Linked DNA regions of Homo sapiens: regions 2, 3 and 4 are each linked to region 1. The links are contacts of gene promoters, found by promoter capture Hi-C in blood cells and fetal thymus (Javierre and others, 2016). All regions are on one chromosome and are shown on one strand. The core of a region is centred on a gene start or on the middle of the fragment in contact, and the rest is flanking DNA. Distances in the headings are between cores, read along the strand shown. Region 1 holds the start of PPP2R5E (protein phosphatase 2 regulatory subunit B'epsilon). Region 2 overlaps MAX (MYC associated factor X). Region 3 has its middle 18 kb from the start of LINC00644. Region 4 overlaps HSPA2 (heat shock protein family A (Hsp70) member 2).

Evidence for each region. The method cuts DNA at HindIII sites, captures the fragments that hold promoters and counts their contacts. A CHiCAGO score of 5 or more calls a contact.
Region 2: a fragment that was not itself captured here is called in contact with the fragment with the promoter of PPP2R5E in region 1 in 1 of 17 cell types (fetal thymus); the score reaches 9.8 in fetal thymus.
Region 3: a contact is called between a fragment that was not itself captured here and the fragment with the promoter of PPP2R5E in region 1, in 1 of 17 cell types (erythroblasts). The highest score is 5.4, in erythroblasts.
Region 4: a contact is called between a fragment that was not itself captured here and the fragment with the promoter of PPP2R5E in region 1, in 1 of 17 cell types (fetal thymus). The highest score is 5.0, in fetal thymus.

The regions. Positions count from the first base shown.
Region 1 is chr14:63,540,803-63,545,761 of GRCh38, reverse strand. It overlaps PPP2R5E (protein phosphatase 2 regulatory subunit B'epsilon), which reads left to right and starts at 2,385. Exons shown (of 14, transcript NM_006246.5): 1 at 2,385-2,983. LOC112268140 (loricrin-like) reads right to left here and starts at 2,978. Exons shown (of 1, transcript NR_158218.1): 1 at 1,098-2,978. RefSeq lists enhancers at 903-982, 2,070-2,279, 1,342-2,333 and silencers at 2,570-2,709, 2,750-2,889. The HindIII fragment of the contact is 771 bases long and covers 2,208-2,978 here.
Region 2 is chr14:65,096,277-65,101,235 of GRCh38, reverse strand. All of the region lies in intron 2 of MAX (MYC associated factor X), which reads left to right. Among named protein-coding and RNA genes, the nearest start is that of MAX, 3.8 kb to the left of the region's middle. The HindIII fragment of the contact is 1,125 bases long and covers 2,487-3,611 here.
Region 3 is chr14:62,155,153-62,160,111 of GRCh38, reverse strand. No RefSeq gene overlaps it. Among named protein-coding and RNA genes, the nearest start is that of LINC00644, 18 kb to the right of the region's middle. The HindIII fragment of the contact is 465 bases long and covers 1,729-2,193 here.
Region 4 is chr14:64,541,088-64,546,046 of GRCh38, reverse strand. HSPA2 (heat shock protein family A (Hsp70) member 2) reads right to left here. Exons shown (of 1, transcript NM_021979.4): 1 at 2,810-4,959. The coding sequence ends at 3,278. Among named protein-coding and RNA genes, the nearest start is that of HSPA2, 2.8 kb to the right of the region's middle. The HindIII fragment of the contact is 580 bases long and covers 1,817-2,396 here.

The sequences.
Region 1 (4,959 bases), core at 1,136-3,635:
TCCCGTGGTTTATTTGCAAAGGACTCATAGAGTCATTTGTCTGTTTTATGAGGGTTAGTTTAATTAAACTTAGATAATATAATCAGTAAGTCCACTTAGTTGAATCCAGAAACTGCAATAAGAAACCGCAATAAGTCATATGTTGTCAGGGGCTGATTGGGTGGGCCCACCACTGCCAACCCCTAGGAATGGGTAACTCCCACTTTTCCCTGAGGACATCTCCTATGCTGTTCTAGGCCAAGGCACCATTCCATGGACTGAGGGCAGAGCCATTCACTCTATATAAAATAGTAGTTGACCGTAATGCCTTTTAGATTAAAATTAAATGTAAATATATTTCCTAATACTTTCTTTTACTGCATCCGAAATAGATTGTCTTGCACTATTCTTGGAGTACCGAAATCCCTGGGATACATGGGAGAAATTACTGGTCCAGAGAACAATTTCTCACATAGGCAAGGATGTTTCCATTTTAAAAAACCTGCTCATTTCAGTTGCTCAGCCATTTTATAGAAAGTGAAATGACTTTGAAATGAATTGTCTTTATAGAGATCCATAATTTGCAAGCAAAATCCCCACTCTATGACATGTTCTAAGCAACAGCTGTGAGAATTTCAAACGTGCACTATGCTTTTAACAGTTCAACTGTTGCCAAGGGAAATTGAATTGGCTTCAAAATCTTCCTTGGTTTTAATTCTGAATTTACCCTCAATCAAAGATTGAAGAAAACAGGTCCTTGGCTGGGACACTGAACTTTCATGAAGACTGTACAGGATATTGAGATATGGAAAATTTAAGGTTCTTGAGGGTAGGAACTAGACTGCTGGTATTCTATAGTTCATACTTAGTGGTGATGAACTTTATCACGGCAAAAGTGGGCACTAGCCATACAGTGGCCAATCATCTGGAGTCAGTAGGGGGAGACTGCTTCCATCTAAGAGTCATCTTTTCGTTTTCCATTTCAGTTCAAAGCAGGAATATTTTTATCTTTCATGGCACAAAATTATTTTTCCACTCAAGAGCCATTTCTGGGAGTGTGCAAAGAAAATTTCAAAACTCTAGTGTTTAACAACACAAACAGGAGAAATGCAAATGCATTTTTCGTTGTCACTTGTACATATGGTACATATAGTTTTATTTATATATAGCTCTATTCCCTAACCGTATCGAAAAGATGATATAATGCTGAGGGAAAAAACTAGGCTACAGATCGACACACATTATTAACATAAAGAGAAAAAATACTAAAAGGAAGTATGCAAATACTGTAAGTGGTTATCTCTGAGTTGAGAAAATAAGAATGTTAATTTTTTTGTCCCCCCCCCCAATTTCTAAGTTTTGAACAACTGGTACTCTGACGTTTGTAGTTAGCATTAATAATTTCTTTCTTCCTTTTTTCCTCTCAAAAAATGTACGTAGGGTGCATTCAAATACATTAATCCAAGAATATTATCTGGAAATGTACCATTTGGCCGTCTGCATTCACCAAGCATGCAAACACATCTCCAAATATCTCATCACTTGTTCTAGATAGATTTAAGTAGTCTTCTCCATTAACTCTTTCGGGTCCAACTTGCCAATTAAAATCTCGAAACTCCTAGTTTGGAGCTGGGTCTTTCCGAGCTCTGAGCAGTCGGCTGACTGGCGGGTTATTCTGAATGAATAGACTGCAAACTGTGGCGACAGCGTTCCCACCTGCATTAATTAAACGAGCGCTGGCTTCAACGCTACAGGGGTCTGATATTCAAAACAGACGTTTAAGGAAAAGGAGATGAGGTGAGAGAAAATTCGAAGAAGGTTCAGCGGAGAGCGACTGCTGGGGGTTTCAAGGGGCCCATTTACACAAGCAGTGGCACACCGGCACGGGCGGGGGATCTTATTCCTGCCTACGCATCACAGGGTCCCGTCCAGAGTGGGACTCCCCAAACCCTGAGGGGCCACACTAGCTGCAGGGCGGGATCAAGTCTCCGGGGCTCCCCGACCCTTAGACGACCCGAGCCCTTGGAATCCTCCGGTCCAAGACGACCGCCGCCCAAAGGCTCCGCACAGCACGGAAAGCCAGCCCGCTGATCCGCTAGTCGCACACCTCCCGGAATTAAAGAGCTCCTCTCAGGCCCAGCGGCTTCTCACTTCAGCTTGCCCCACTGCCGGGCGGAAGCGGCGGCTGCACCGCCCGAGATCGCGGCTGCATCCGGGTTCCTCAAGCTTCGGCCCAATCCTCGACCTTCTCTCTTCCCACCCTCCCGTTTCTCCGCCCTCCTGCCGCCAATCCCTGATCAGGTCTCAGCCGAACATGCTGTCAGGGGAGTGAAGGCGGATACTGGCCAATGAGGCCTCGCTTCCCGTTTGAAGTCTCCAGTGGGCGGGCGCCGGAGGCGGGCGCTGCTGGCCAGAAGGTTCGGTTGCGCGTGTGCCATGGACTCAGCCGCCCGGTGATATTGACAATAGGAGAGAGAAAGGGGCATTGACTGGGACCCACCGCGGGTAGCGAAAGGTGGCTCTGGCAGCGGCGGCTCCAGCTCCTGCGGCTCCTCCTCCTTATTCTGTCCCCTTCTCTTGCTGCCGCTGCAGATCCAGTCTTCCTCCCTCCCTTCCCCCCCTCCCCACGTCGTCGCCGCCGCCGCCGGGTCCGGGGCAACGAGCTGAGGCGCCGCCCGCCAGGAATGTGAGCGAGGAGCCACCGGCGGAGCCGCAACGGGGTCGGTGCCGATTTGATGGGACGGGCCCGCGGGGGAGGATCGTGAGGCCGCCGCCGCCACCGGAACGCTGAGGTTCGGGTCCGGCCGTGAGGCCTAGAGGCTCCGCCGCCGCGGAACCGGAGGGACCCCGTACCGGACAGCCGTCGCCCCAGGCTCCCCGCAGCTGCCCGGACCTCCCCCTGCACGTCCCGGTCCCGCCGCCCGCCCCCGCTGCGGCCACCTCGCCCGTCTCCCGCCCCTCCAAGCCACAGATCATCTTTGGATTCTTCCCCAGAAGCTTCAAGGTAACTTAGTCCCTCCAGCACCGCGGCTCGCCCGCTTCCCTTCTTCCTCCCGGTCCTCCTGGGGAACCTATGGGGCACCGGCCTTGGGAAGGCCTGGCCGGGCAGGCGAGGGGTGCGGTGGGGTGGGGTGCGGGAGCGGGAGCGCCCGTCCCACTTGTCTGATTTACCTACAAATGCTTCTGATGATACCTCTCATTCACTCTGCCCCCTCCCCCCTTTTTCTCCACCTTCTGGGATTGGAGGCGTTTTCTTGCCCCCCTTTATCCACTGGCGGGGGCGGGGAATAAAGAGGGGTTTGGTGTGAGGAGGATTCTCTAGCAGCTTATCGTCTCCAGGGCTTGGGGTGTGGGTTAGGAGCAAAGGGAGTATGTAAGCATCCCCACAGACAAACCCCTTCCCTGTCTTTCCCTACTTCCCCTTACCCCCTTTGGATTATCCTGAGCCATGGAAATGCCCCATGCCTGCTGATTAGAGGATGATAAAGCTTCGGGAGCCCTGGCCCAGGGCGAAACCTGTTTCCCTGGGCTTTGCACGGACCCGCTGTTACCTTACGTTCAGTTTTGCAGTGCTTCAGGGTTGCGATCCTTGACGTTTATTCTGGGCCTCGGGCATAAGGGGTAAATGATTTTTTTAAAAGCTACCTATATATCGTCTGTAGAGATGAGAGATAAGGAATAAAGAAGAGACGAAAAGAGTGATGGAGGAAGAGGATTTACTGAAATGTTGTAGTGTTAGAGTTAGAGTGAAGTCTAAATAATTCACATACCCGAATGGAAAATCGGCCCCTAAATTTACAACGTACAAATAAGATGTGGAGCTTTTGGCTGATGCAGTCATTTTGATATTTTAAAGTGATCTTAACATCTATAGTCATTCATAGTTTGTGATTCTATTTTGAATCCATCACATTATATTAAGGCTAAATTAGGTAGATTTTTAAAAACTTTTTTTTTTTTAAAGAAAACCAAAGAAGACTTCCAAATTCCAAACGTCAACATCATATGTGTGCATGTGTTTTAAAATGTTTTTGTTATTTTTACATTGTCAAAATCCACGTAATCCAGGTAACTTTTTATTCTCACGTGTTCAGGAAGAAATTCCCTTACTGTTTTATTTAGAAGTTAAAAACCACTTGTCTTGTCTATTGGAATGACAGGTGAGTAATTGCATTTCAGCATTTCCCCCATATGCATTCTTTCTATCCGAGTCTGCCATTAGTCTTGCATGAAGCCTCAGTGCCATGGAAATGATGGCATCTGTTTAATTTGGTGAATGAAATTAAGCTTAACGCTTGTTACTTTCAGGAAATAGCCTTCATTTTAATAACTCGAGAGGGTTAAACAATTCAAAAGTGCTATTCAGTTCCGTAAGTTTGATGGAATGAAAATTGGTATTTGATGATGAACTTCAAGGTCTAAACCTCAAGGGAACTCAACTTGGTTGTTTCAGTAGGCTGTGAATTTATGTTTTCAGTTCAACTTTGGTGCTTGATTTTCTCATAGTTTTTATTAAGCGTTAATAACGTAAGGTGGCTTCATTCAAAAAGAAGACTTATTTGAAATATTTTAATTATGCCTTTTATGTGTTTTGTTTAAAGTAATCTAGCCTGTCCTCATTTGCAGTGTGGTATAGTTTATCATAGCTAACATAGCACATCCCATTAAAAGTTATGCCTAGATAGTTTCAGTAGTAGTAAATTTCACCTTGCTGTGATACATTGGTATAGATTCTTGAAGTACACTAAGGGTTTTTCAACTCCAGAACCCATTCATAATATTAAGTATCTTGGGAAAATGTATCAATGGAAGTTTTCCAGTTACAGAATAGCTCCAAAAATTACTTGAAGATGTGAAGAGCTTTGCAGTTAGAAAATGGGCAGGCAGCATAGATTTCTTTAAGCCTAGATGAGTATCTTTAATGCTTATAATGGAGTGGCACAATACATTAGAGTTCTCATATTGTTTCCGTGATACTTA
Region 2 (4,959 bases), core at 1,800-4,299, 1.6 Mb before region 1:
TTCTGGTCTGGTAGTATTATTTCAGGGCAAAGTGGTCAGAAGATTTATTTAGGAACAAGTAGGTTTTAAACCATATCTGTATAATTGTGTGAAGCTGAAGCCACATGCGGTAATCGCCTTTAACCAAGTCATGTGACTGCTATAGACCCGTAGAATCTAGCACAACATGGTATTCTAATGCAAAAATTGGAAATGTAGAGGAGCCAAACGTTACATCATCAAAGTGTCACATAAAGTTATTATGGTCTGATTCTCTGTATTTGAAGAAAAGGTATAAAGAAAATTAAAAAATAGCTGAAGAAAAGTGGCATTGCAGAGACAGCTTTGCTGAAAGGTGATGGATGAGACCATAGAGTGTTATCAATAATTTCTTAGGGTTTTGATATTAATGTTCTCAGTAGATGGTTCTGTGGATTTAGATAAGCACTAATTCCATGTCTTTGGAGTCTGAGACAGTAATATGGATGTTTCATGAATAGATTTGAGGGAAAAAAGAATACACACAGAATAAATCAGAATCAGCGAGGGGAAGAGAAATAAGTATATCAGAGTGTCTAATATTTGATAGTTGGGAGCAGTAAGAAATGTATAGAATGGGGGTAAAAAGTTCAAATGCCCATGAGGGCCATAAAGAATAAAGAAGGAAGAGGTGAGGGCTTGGGTACTGGAGAGCAGTGCCTCTTCTAAAAAGTCAGCACTACTGAACTCCAGTGGTTTGTTAGTAGGAGTGAAGGGTCAGTATTGCCAGATCTTCCTATTTTTAATTTTATTTTATTTATTTATTTTTGAGACAGAGTCTCACTCTGTCACCAGGCTGGAGTGCAATGGCGCTATCTCGGCTTACTGCAACCTCCGCCTCCTGGGTTCAAGCGATTCTCTTGCCTCAGCCTCCCGAATAGCTGGGACTACAGGCGCGTGCCACCACACCCAGCTAATTTTTGTATTTTTAGTAGAGACGGGGTTTCACCATGTTGGCCAGGCTGGTCTCGATCTCTTAACCTCGTGATCTGCCAGCCTCGGCCTCCCAAAGTGCTGGGATTACAGGCATGAGCCACCACGCCCAGCCGATCTTCCTATTTTTTAAGAAAGATTAGAAATCTAAAACTTTATGTTATTTTTCTGATTTTTAAAATGATGTGTGGAACAACTGTTTGGGGGCTTGTTAGAATTTGCAGGATGTCACTTTGATACCTCTGGTATAAGAACTTGATAACCACAGGGTAAAGGCAAGCCATCTCAGTTATACCTGCTCTTCATTAGAGCAAGCAAAGATTGTGCAGGTTGTCTAAGCAGATAGGCATTAAGAAAACTTATTTATTGAGAGCTGATATTTCCATAAAATCCGGGGATGTAGTTGTTCCAAAAGTCTTAAAAATTATCCCTGGGTAATAGTCATTAAAGATAATTTGTTTTATTTTATTTATCCTTGAAGTATTCTCATATACTTATGCATATATTTGAAAATTGAATTCCTTTTTCACATTTACTTTTATCCTTCATGTTTGGGGCCTAGTCTGTTGAAAACTTTTTTTTTCCCTGCAAGTCTCCAGTTGTAAAATCTGTGCTAGGGCTTGATCAGAGCTGGAGGGTAAGGATCGTTTAGCCTTCCTTTGCAGAATTATCCTTTGAATTGAAATTATACTGACTTCCCAGTAAGAGAAAGTTGTGTTTTTTTTGTTTGTTTGTTTGTTTGTTTGTTTTTTTGGTGAAATTTTGGCTCGCAGTTCTTGAAAGCTTTCTGCTTTTCAAAATTTTCATCCATATGATCGTTGATATAAATTTGTTATTAAATTATTATAATGTTTCTGCTTTCCTGGAATGCTAATCTCATTGTTTTGTCTAGATGTTTTTAGTTTGCTGTTAAGGTGCCTAGGATTTTTCCTTTTGATTTTGGGGGTAGGCAAAGGAAGTTGGTTTGACACTTTGTTTTTAATTTAACACATCTATTTGTTGATATTTCTAAATATTACTCTGCACAATGTAATTACAACAGCATGGAGAGAAAAAGCAGATATGTTATAAACAAATTTTATAGTATATCAAACAACTATTGTGACTGTGTAGGGTAAAAAGGATTCCATTTTTTCCCCTCTGTGAATGCATCTGCTTACTTCTCAATATTTAATATGGATAATAAATATATTTTTTAAAATTTAAGAGGGAGCTATTCTTAAGTTTTGCCTTAGAAAAAAGGTTTAAAAAAAGATGTGGACTGTGAACAACCAAATACTTAGGTATTCAGGACTACAGAAGATGTTGAAAAAGTTATTTGAAAAGGGTTCTGTGGATCCTAATATAAAAACATTCATGTATGTTTTATAATGTCACTACAATATATAGGCCTTACTACATGAGAAATGTAAGATACTGAGAAGAGAGTTAGGAAGTTAGGCTAACTCTAACAGAAAGTGAAACTGATTTGGCAAATATTTTTTTCTATTGCTTCAGTACAAACGGAAAACAGCTTCTCCAATGGCCAGTAAGCTTTGTTAAAGGAAGTAACCCCAAAGAGTATTCTTACTACTAAATTCAGTACATCGCAAAATCCCACTGATGTTATTTTTATTATATTTTGGAGGGAAGAGGTTGCATTTTAAAGATAAATTTGTGGGACAGGTATATTATATTGCAAGGGCTTCCTTTTGCTTTATTTCTGTTTGGGAAATTTCTTTAGGAAAGAGTGTAAGTATACAGGAAATGTATGGGTTAGTGTGTTGGTCAGGAAATGCAATTTTTTTTCCAGTGACCATCCTTGATGGCACCTGACTGAGTTGCAGTTGCAGTATACTTGTGAGGGGTTTGAAAACAGATTTGTGCAATTCCACTTCTGGACCTTTCTGGCATGAAATATTTTTAACTTCTCAGAGCTCTTTGCTTCTTTAGGAATATTCAGAAGAGAACGAGCTTGGTAGCCTCCGAGATTGGAATTCACTCAGGAAACTACTGTCTGTTTTACCTGCAGTCAGTTGCATGGCAAAAGTGCTGCACAATGCATGTACTTTTTCTCTGCTTAGAGTGTTGACAGTGATGCTTACAGTGATAACAAATGCCAGAGTTAGTTCCTAAATGTGCCTGTGTTAGGGTAAAAGTTGTTCTTATGTCTAAAAGAATTTTTCCAAGATGCCAGTAACGGTGAAATAGTTGGTCAAAGAATTCAGCTTGGTTTTTAATTAAAATTTCCTGACCAAGGCATCCTTCTCTGAAATGGCTATAGTATGAGGCCCTGTTTGGATTATAGCATTTGCCAGTTATTTTAGGCACCAAAAGAAAAAAGTTTGAAAACAAATACATACATTAGATAATGTTGGAAATGTATACCAGGCAATCAGCTACAAGCAGGACAGGTATTGGAAAATTGAAATCCATGTCTTTCTCTTAGGGAGCTTGGTGAGTTTATCCCATCCTACCTGCCTATTATTTTATGTTATAATTTTTGGGTTGATTAAAATGAATATTTTAAGTTGCTTAGAAATTGAGCTTTATCCTATCTTGTTCTTATCTATCAGAAGTAAGAAATAGATCTTTTCGGATGAGATTTTTGGGTCTGTGTATTCTCGTGTCCTTAGTCTCTAATAAGAATAGCTTGATAAGAATCATAAGCAACACAAGCTTCCCTCTAAAATACAACCTTCACATTTTGTAAAGGTAGTAAATATTGAGTGGGCAACTAATTCCCTATATGCTGAGAATTTTCTGTATTAGAATTGAGATGGTTCCCCTTATAGGTGGGGTTAGCTGTCAGGTAGCCTGTAAGACATGGCATTGTTCTGGAGAACCTTGTGCATCCTGGAATAATGAAGCATTTATTTCCCCGTGCTATTTGCCTAGAACTTGGAGGAAATAAGATTACTGACTGATGTGATGCCTTGAACAAAGATGCAGTCTCTCTGCAGTAAGTTGGAAGGAAATAATTTTAAGAGATTTCCCTCAATTTTGAACAGACCTCCTTAGCCTAGATGACTTCTTGCCAACATAGCAACTTCTTGGCTAACAAAATAATGTTTGTCTTCAACATCTAACAACACTTAAGATACACGTGCTTGGTAGTGTCAAAGATGGACAAATTGTAGGTGAAGATTTTTATTCTGTCTACCAGTGTGGAAAGTTGGGTAGAAATATAACTGAGAGGCTGAATAAAAACTTTGGCAGAGATGTCAAAGCTGGAAGTGATTTGGTGCGGGAGTTTCTGTTGAGCATCTGTGGACCACTGCATAGCCCCTTAGTATTTCTGTTAGGGATGCCCTGGAGGAAGGGTTTTCTGGCAGACATCCAGACGTACAAATCCAGCGTACTAGAAGAGTGGGCAGCATCCAGCCACTGTAACCATAGGATGTGTAGGGGAGATGTTTGGGAGCCTGCTGTACAGTCCAAGAATACCTCTGTGGTCTCCTAGAATAGGGCCTAATTAATTCCACAAGGGGGTTTTCCGTACCATTTGTTTTCATTACTGAACATCATTCTCAGTACAGGCTCATCTGAGTAGAGTTTTATTTGTTCAAGACAATTGTTTGGGCTTGTTTTTTAAAACCAGTTTTGCATTTGGGGGAGGATATTAGATGCCTTACACTGGGAGTCTTCACCCAGTTTTTCTTCTTCAACTCTGAAATCTTGGCCCTCTCAAAAAGGGTTGCCAGCAAGCAAAGACAGTTAACAAGGCAGTGATAAAGCCTGCAAACTAGTCCTCCAATGGGGGTGGGGATGAGGCGCGGGCAGTGTTATTGGTCTGGGTGGATCTGTGGTTTGGAAATGTTTCCCACAGAGAATTCTCAGCCTTGTGTAAAGGTTTTTCTGTTTTTCATGTGCTCTTTCAAAACATTAGTGATAACATTTAATTCACAGTTGCCTGGAATTAGGCTTGTTAGTTCTGCATGTTTTTAACTTGTTCTTTCAAATCAAGCTTGGGGAAGAGAAAAATACATCCTTGCCATTGTCTCTGAGAGATTTAAAATTGACTCCACT
Region 3 (4,959 bases), core at 712-3,211, 1.4 Mb after region 1:
TAGCTATAATTCTAGAACTTCTATGTCCCTTGAGCCAATATTTTCCCTATTTGGGTTGTGTTTCTGACACTAACAACTGAAAATGTGTAGATTGATAGGTAAAGCCCAGTACAGCATAGGATTCAGCCACTAAAAAAAGTTTTCCTAAAGAAATGTCCTATCAACTTAGAACACATATTAAAAGAGTTCACCAGAGAACCCTGGCTATTGCCACACATTGTGCACTGCCTGCAATGGTTTTATCCGTATTGCTCTTAGGACGTGATTATTATGCACTTTCCTGACTTTCAGATGGAAAAGAAAATGTTGCCAATCCCCTGAACAACCCAGTCATTCTTAATGAGAGGGACAATATGAAGAAGGCTGTGTGGTAAAGAAGGAAAACAAAAAAGACACAAAATAAATCGAAGCCAGTCACACTTAAAAGTTGGGTACACCAGACTCCCACTGTAGATTCAGAATAAATAGCAGACAGGAAGAACAGACAGACAGACACACTCCTGCCACACATATGCACATATCAACATACTGCAATGATGCTTTAATAATGCCAACTAATTATGCCATCTTTCATAGAGAGAGACAGTAATTGTGTTTCTCGAGTGTGGTGACGTAAGCATTTTCAGATTCTACAATGTAACCATTTTGAAGAATAAGTTGAGAGTATCTATCCAGAGTCTTATAAATGTATTTGACTTTAAAATTCCACTTTTATAAACCTATCATGAGAAAACTGAAAAGGCTTTATGTATGATATTGATAAAAGTACTATCTGTAATACCAAAAAATTAAAATCATTTAAATTTCCAACAAAAATATAACATTATTTTCCCTCTAATTGAATAAATATTTACACCAAAGGATGTTTTTCAAAAGCCAGTAATGACAGGAGAATTTTTGTTGTAATGTTAAGTGAAAAGAACTGGATACAAATTTGCATGTATGCCATCATCTTGACCCTGGGAAAACAAACTATGTTCATTTTAATTTATAGGAACAAATGAGAAATTGATTACATGCATTTCCCAGTGAGATTAATCTTAACTGTTCTGGTATGATCAAAGTAGTCAGCTCAATTTTCCCCGAGTCCTTATCTGGATATTCAATGTGGTCAGCTGTCATGGGTGGTTTTGTTACGTCAGGAGACTTGATAGCCAAGACTGATAAACTAAACAGACAGTTATACCAGATTTGGGCTGGGCTGCCCACCACTGAGCTGAGCAGTTGTTAATATTGACACAATTTCTGTTAACAATGTGATCACATGCACTGCTGTACTTAAAGTGTAGTTTATATGTCACATCCTCATTTTTTCCCTTTTTTGTTAGTGTGCATTATAGATATGTGTTACCCAAAACTACATCAATTATACATACAAGCAAAAGTTACAATAACCTTATTTTAAAATACATTTTCTTTCTTCTGGGATATGAAAAATGGATTCACTTGGTAAATAGCCCTGATATCTGATTCATACATAAAAAAATGACTATTTTCTGTCAAGAAAACTGTTCCAGAATGTAAAACTAAACAAACAGACAGGCAATCCAGTTCCCTCATGTACAACGAGCCATTAGTAAAAGATGTATTCCCTTAAGTGACCTCAGAGGATGTTCTGCTACACCCAGGAAAGTGGGAAGGGGATAATCAAGTGGAGAGTACAATTCACAAAGATAATCATTTTCATCTGATGGAGGAAAAATAACATAGGCGTCTACTATAAAAGCTTATTTTAAAAGACAAATCACAGGAAAAATAATGGAAAAGCCTAAAAATCTCTTATAAATGCCTGCCTGAATTCAGTGACCAAAAGCTCGAATTTAAAGACCCTCAGGGAATTTCTGTGGACATCTGCACTGATGATGAGAGGAATAATCTCCAGTGCTCACCTATTCCTCATCGGCTGTGTTGTTTGTGTGTGTGTGTGTGTGTGTGTGTGTGTGTGTGTGTTTCTCACGCACAAATCAGAGCTAGTTACCACAAAACCGAGAGAGTGTAGAATCAGTCATTAAGTTGGTCCCAGAAACCATGGTGGCTGGGGTCTCAAATGTGACAAGATTTACAAGATCTAAGATCTGGCATTTTACTCAGCAAAATACAGCACCCTTGGGGATGTTTAGAATCTTTCCATTTATCTACAAGGCATTTCTACTTCAGTGTCTCTCCACCCACATGTACCCCACGGAAGAAGCTTAATAATAGTTCACGATATGTATGTATATATTAGAAAATGCCTGGCAAATATTAAGTTCTACATAAATGTTACTTAATCATCTGCATTATATATATATATTCAATTTAATCCTTATAATTCTATGAAGCAAGTACTATCATTCTCATTTTATACATAAGGAAACTGAGGCTCAGGGTGACTAAATAAGTTTTCCATTTTATGATTAGTAAATAGAAGAGCAGAGATTTCAACCAGGGGTCCTTGAGACTATACTGATGAATGTATCAATGAGCAATGAAGAAACAATAGGCTCTAACACCTAACACCAATCTTTGTGTGCCTCGGCTACTGCTCTAAATGACTAGTTTCTTTTGCTTTTTTCTTTTTTTTTTTAACTGTATTGGTTTTTGTTCATTTTTTAATTGTTGTATTGAGTTTTTAATTTTTATTTTTATTTCAATAGTTTTGGGTGTACAGGTGGTTTTTTGTTACATGGATATGTTCTTTAGTGGTGATTTCTGAGATTTTGGTGCACCCATCACCCGAGCAGTGTACACTGTCCCCAGTATGTAGTCTTTTATCCCTTGCCCCTCCACCCGCTTCCCTGCCACCTAGTCCCCAAAGCCCATTAGATTATTCTTATGCCTCTGCATCCTCATAGCTTAGCTCCCACTTATAAGTGAGAATATATAATTCAAACGACTAGTTTCTCTATCACTTATTATTTTCAAGCCCTTGTCTGGGGCTCTGAATTCTACCACCTACTCTCCCTGACTACGGAGCAACTCCTGTGCCTACACTTATGACATATGCAAAGCTCCTTCTGTGCTGACATCCCAGACTCTGTCCCCATCTTCCCAGCCCAGGCTTCCTGGGACATGTTCATCTCTTTGGTAACATACTGATCATTGGCTCCACACCTCTTTGTTTCATGTTTCTCTCTCTTCGGCTACCATTTATTGTACACAATGTTATTCCCTTAATATAATTGATTGAGTAACTCTTCCTCTGTGAAGCCACCTTTATTATATGTGTGTGTGTACATATATATGTGTTTGTTTATTTACTGTTATTAGATCCCGTTACTCTCAGCTCCTGTGGCATCCTATTTTTAATTACTATGGCTTTATAATAATGTTCGGTGATTGGTTCAGCAAATATTTTCTCCTTGCTCTCTCTCTTCACAATTTTATTATCCGGCTGATCATGGTGCCTCATGCCTGTAATCCCAGCACTTTGGGAGGCCGGGTTGGGTGGATGACGAGGTCAAGAGATCAAGGCCATCCTGGCCAACATGGTGAAACCCCGTCTCTACTAAAAATACAAAAAATACTGGGCATGGTGGTGCACGCCTGTAGTCCCAGCTACTCAGGAGGCCGAGGCAGGAGAATCGCTTTAACCTGGGAGGCGGAGGTTGCAGCGAGCCGAGATCACGCCCCTGCACTCCGGCCTGGTGACAGAGCAAGACTCCATCCCCCCCAAAAAAATAAATAAATTCATCCCCATAGCTTTGTTCATTTAGAAGGTCAGAATGACACCAGAATCATATTGCTGAAAGGTTTTTTAAAGGAGGTTTTATTAGAATTTCATTAAACATATACATTAGCCTGGAAAAAATGATATGTTTATGGTAGTCACACTCCCCATATAAAAATATGGTTCATCTCTCTCAGGTGTCCTGTTGTGTTAGGGTAAATCCATGAAATAGGATACCCTGAATGACTGTTATATCAAATATTTATTTGTACTTTTATTGCATTCTGAATGGTATCCTTATTTCATTATTCTTTTTCCTAGCTGATAGTTACTACTTAATAGAAAAGCTTTTATTCCTCTACTTTTAAATCCGTCACTTAATTAAAGTTTCTTATTATAGCTAATGGTTTTTTAATGGATTTTTTGTGTTGTGTCCATGGGAATAATACTATCTAAAACTAATAACGTCTACATTTTCTGTACCCATACCTAGAAATTCCAGGGCAACAGTAAATAAAAGTAGTCATAGTGGGCATGCTTAGTGCACTACTAATTATGGAGGACATGTTTCCGTTATTTCATTATTAAGTACATAATGTAGAATTGGAAACATAGAATGATATTCATTATCTTGTTAAAAACATCTTACACTTCTAGTTTACTGAGAGATTGGTTTTTATCAGAAACTGGAAATATTTCATGTTCTTCCTTTATTAAGATAATATGCCTTATTTCTAGCTTTTTTAGTTGAAACATCCTTATATCTCCAAAATAAAACTCATTTGGTCTTGATACATTAGTCTCTTAATTTACTGCTGAATTTAGTATTTGACAACTGCATGTATAGAATTTGTTCTGTTTTTCCTGTCTATGTTATATTTGACTGGATTTGTTGTCAGAATTTCCCTAAATTTAAAAATAAACTGGAGTTATTATAAAGTCAAAAACAACAGATGATGGTGAGGCTGTGGAGAAAAGGGAACACTTATATGCCATTAGTAGGAATGTAAATTAGTTCAGCCACTGTGGAAAGCAGTTTGGAGATGTCTCAAAGAACTTAAAACAGAGCTACCATTTAACCCAGCAATCCCATTACTAGGTATATACCCAAAGGAAAATAGATAATTATACCAAAAACAGACATGCACTTATAGTAGTAGTTCCACACTTCACAATAGCAAAGACATGGCATCAACCTAGGTGCCTATCAATGGTGGATTGGATAAAGAAAATGTGGTACATAGGCACCAGGGAGTACTATGCAGCCATACAAAGAATGAACTTGTGTCCTCTGCAGCAACATGGATGTA
Region 4 (4,959 bases), core at 857-3,356, 1.0 Mb before region 1:
ACTTCAATTTAAATCGTGTTCAAAAGCAAGAGGAGCATGCCTCACAACACAACCTTTATAAACTACATTCAGTTAAAAGTAAGAATATGTTATAGGTCCACTATTGGAAAATCATAAAAATAGATTTTCTGATTTCATCTAGATAGCCAGGTTGTATTACTGTTTAAGATTATACATAAAAAAGAAATACTCATTAAGTCTCCATTACATATTGAATGGGTAACATAATATTACACATACATGTTAAATTAACAGTTGTAAATTGTACTAAGATCTCCTAATGTACAAGTTTTAATGCATTTTCATTATACATATCAAATCAATACTATAAAAAATTTAAAGTGAGTTTGTTTTGAAATTTCACACATCTCAAATACTGTAAACAACTAGTTATGTCTTCGTTTGACAGGTGTCTATATTTGTTCCCTCAAAACAGGGACAACTATGTTAATCAAACATTCAGATAAGAATTTCAGGTAAGTGGGCTGGCGCGTGGCTCACGCCTGTAATCCCAGCACTTGGGGAGGCCAAGGCGGGCGGATCACCTGAGGTCGGGAGTTCCAGACCAGCCTGACAAACATGGAGAAACCCCATCTCTACTAAAAATACAAAATTAGCCAGGTGTGGTGGTGCATGCCTGTAATCCCAGCTACTCGGTAGGCTGAGGCAGGAGAATCGCTTGAACCCAGGAGGCGGAGGTTGAAGTGAGCCGAGATCAAGCCATTGCACTCCAGCCTGGGCAACAAGAGTGAAATTCCGTCTCAAAAAAAAAAAAAAAAAAAGAATTTCAGATAAGTGCCTGTCGGAGAATCCTTAAACTGTAATTTAGCCCCATCCTAACATCAAGTACTTTTTCCACTGTTATTTGACTATGGCTGATCTAACATCTGCTAAGGAGTTCCCAGGAGTTATCAGGTTACAAGTTTCAACTGACCCCTGGAAAGTGAATGGCTACTTTGGTGGCTTTATCTTGGTAATATGCAAATCTTGGTAAATTTGAAAAGAGAGAATTAAATAAGAAACACTCTCAAGAATGCTCAAGAATGTAAAACTCAAGAATTTGAGTTTTACAAATTACTTTTCAAAATAGAAAATGAAGTATCTGCCCAGATTGATGTTAGTATTATAGCAAGCTACCGGAGGTCAGGCCGTAGGATCAAAAACTACCAATGGTCATTTTCTGATACTTTAGAAACTAATCTCTTAAGTGAGGTCTAAAATGAGTCATACCAAACTGCATTTACAGAAGGACTCCATTATATTTTGAAGTTAGAGCAAGGAATGAACACTTTCAACAAATAAAGGACTAATAAAAGGGTAACAGAATGGGTATTATCTTGGTAAAACTCACAGTAAACGTCACTCTAAAGCTACAATTAACCTGATTTTGTAGTACCATAGTAGTTTGTCACATATTTATGCCTGTAGTCCATGAAACACCCTTAAATGCTCATTGCTGAAAAATTTCCACCAATGTGACACCAGCACTGATAAATTGGAGTTATCTTTAGCTTTTCAGAGTATAAAAAGCAGTTTCCTTTAAAAAAAAAAAAAGGTTTTTATGTTGAAGCAATTTCACTGTTGGCTATTTATCTTCCTCCCCCCTACCCAAATGAGGCTTGCTAAAAAGGAAAAAAAAAAAAACACCTTATGTGTACTTAAGAGTCAACTCTTGTATGAAAGGGTCATTACCAAAGGCCAGTATTCTTAGGCTAACTTCTTAGCTAGTTTTAAAATTATTACTCATTCCATTATTCATAAAATTAATCTCTCTGAATGACACAGATGGGTCCACTACTAAATTGAAGATAAAGCTTTCATAACTATTGTCTTATGAGCAGCATGAAGCAAACCTGCATCATGTGGAAAGATATCAAAACGTCTATGTGCAGTAAAAACATTAGGTTAACTATGCATTTTCCTATTGGTTTTACTGAATTTCTCTCAAGTTCTCCTTAAAGAGAGTAAGAAAAGAGTAGTCATGTCATTTCACTAAAAAATAAAAATGAATTCCTTTCTCTGAAGGATGTGAATTTTAAAGATTAAGTCCAGGATAGTGGATCACCAAAGGGTTGCAATATTCTTATCTATAACAATCTCAAATTGGATATGGAGGAAAATGGACAAGTTGTATATTAACAAAATACAAGACTATCTAGTACAGTTTGCCTTTTAAAAAAGAAATCTATCGTAGTGATTTAAGGCAAGTATTGCAAAAACGTTATGATCCCCAAACCAGAAAAAAATAATAATAATTATGTTTCCCTACCCAAGTAATTCTAACTGCGGGAAACATGTTATTAGAATTTGCCATAAGCTCAGAAGTTGAGCTGTTTTACTAGAAAATTAAACAAGTTTGACTAAATTTATACTCACTATTAAGTCACTTGAAAGCTTGCCTGCTGTCTCTTGTTTCAGGCTCCTGTATGTCACAAAATTAATTTGTTTCCATATTTCCTTTGGCAATTATAAGACAACTTCTGCCCAGCTTTTGTTAAAGGCTCATTTTACATTTAACCCCAGAATATAGCTCATATTTTCCTGGAATATTCAGGTGAATTTTCATTTGGACACTTAAGTTGTAGGAGTGTGAGTACACTAGGAAGACCCCAAGTCAGGTTTCTGTATTTAAGGGTGGGTGAAGTTTACCCAGATTCTTCTCCCCTTAAGTTGTTGGAATTCAAGGCAGCACCCTCATCTGGGAATTAAACAAGATTGGTTAGATAAATTTCACATCATACTAACATCTTAAAAGACGAATATGGGTAAAATATAAAGGAAGGAAAATTGAAAACTCCAAGACAGTAACTTTGAGATCAATTTCAGCTTTACTTTACATTTGCATTTATGCATTTGTTTGCAAAAAGTATACCTGTCCTTAACATTACTGCAATGTTCAGTTTAGTTTTAAAGTAGTACATAAAAATAAACAATTTAAGCTCCTATATATTTTACTGTTTCCAAGCTTCTACAGAACAGGTGTGCAAACTTAAGGTTTCTCATCTCAAACAAATCTCCATGCACGAACTAATCAAAAATGCTCAAGTCAGCAAACACGCAAAATGCATTAAAGAGAAACCTCGAATAATGTTTTTAAAAAACAAACTTTGGAACTTTTATAATTAAACTAAGTTGTTGCACCTCTCCTTTCATTTGCATATACCAAAGACTTCCAACAATAGATCTCGTACTTGGCACAAGGACATTTCAAAGAAACAAACAAAAAAAAAGAGAGAGAGAGAAAGGCAAAGAGGTTTACGCTGACTTGAGTGCAAGCTTAGTCCACTTCTTCGATGGTGGGTCCCCCGGAGGCTCCTGAACCGCCGCCGCCGCTGCCGCCGCCAGGACCACCTTGGTAAAGTTTGCTGATGATGGGGTTGCAAACTCTTTCGAGCTCTTTCTGCTTGTGTTCATACTCATCTTTCTCTGCCATCTGGTTTCGGTCGAGCCAGTTGATCACCTCCTGACACTTGTCGAGGATCTTGTTTTTGTCCTGCTCGCTAATCTTGCCCCTCAGTTTCTCGTCTTCCACCGTCTGCTTGATGTTGTAGGTATAGGACTCCAGGGCGTTTTTGGCCGCGACTCGGTCGCGATTCGCCTCATCTTCCGATTTGTACCGCTCCGCCTCCTGCACCATCCGGTCAATGTCGTCCTTGCTCAGACGACCTTTGTCATTGGTGATGGTGATTTTGTTTTCCTTACCGGTGCTCTTGTCGGCGGCGGTAACGTTAAGGATGCCATTGGCGTCAATGTCGAAGGTAACCTCGATTTGGGGGACCCCGCGAGGCGCAGGGGGAATCCCGGTCAGGTCGAACTTGCCCAGCAGGTTATTGTCCTTGGTCATGGCCCGTTCGCCCTCGTATACCTGCACCAGTACGCTGCTCTGGTTGTCCGAGTAGGTGGTGAAGGTCTGCGTCTGCTTGGTGGGGATCGTGGTGTTCCTCTTGATGAGTGGGGTCATGACACCGCCAGCTGTCTCGATGCCCAGCGACAACGGGGTCACGTCGAGTAGCAGCAGGTCCTGCACATTCTCTGATTTGTCGCCGATGAGGATGGCCGCCTGCACCGCGGCGCCATAGGCCACCGCCTCGTCGGGGTTGATGCTCTTGTTCAGCTCCTTGCCGTTGAAGAAATCCTGCAGCAGCTTCTGGATCTTGGGGATACGAGTGGAGCCGCCCACCAGCACGATCTCCTGGATCTGGCCCTTGTCCAGCTTGGCGTCGCGCAGCGCCTTCTCCACCGGCTCCAGGGTCCCGCGAAAGAGGTCGGCATTGAGCTCCTCGAAGCGGGCGCGCGTGATGGACGTATAGAAGTCCACGCCCTCGTAGAGCGAGTCGATCTCGATGCTCGCCTGCGTGGACGAGCTCAGGGTGCGCTTGGCGCGCTCGCAAGCGGTGCGCAGCCGCCTCACGGCGCGCTTGTTGGGCCCAATGTCCTTCTTGTGCTTGCGCTTGAACTCCTCCGCCAGGTGGCTCACCATGCGGTTGTCGAAGTCCTCACCGCCCAGGTGGGTGTCGCCGGCCGTGGACTTCACCTCGAAGATGCCATCCTCGATGGTCAGGATGGACACGTCGAAAGTGCCACCGCCCAGGTCAAAGATGAGCACGTTCTTCTCGCCGCCCGCGCAGCCCTTCTTGTCCAGGCCGTAGGCGATGGCCGCCGCCGTGGGCTCGTTGATGATGCGCAGCACATTGAGCCCCGTGATGGTGCCTGCGTCCTTGGTGGCCTGGCGCTGCGAGTCGTTGAAATAGGCCGGGACCGTTATGACCGCGCTGTGCACCTTGCCCCCCAGGTAGGCTTCCGCGATCTCCTTCATCTTCGTGAGGACCATGGAGGATATCTCCTCTGGGAAGAAGGTCTTGGTCTCCCCCTTGTACTCTACTTGCACTTTGGGCTTGCCTCCCTCGCTCACCACCCGGAACGGCCAGTGTTTCATATCCGACTGCACTGTGGCATCCT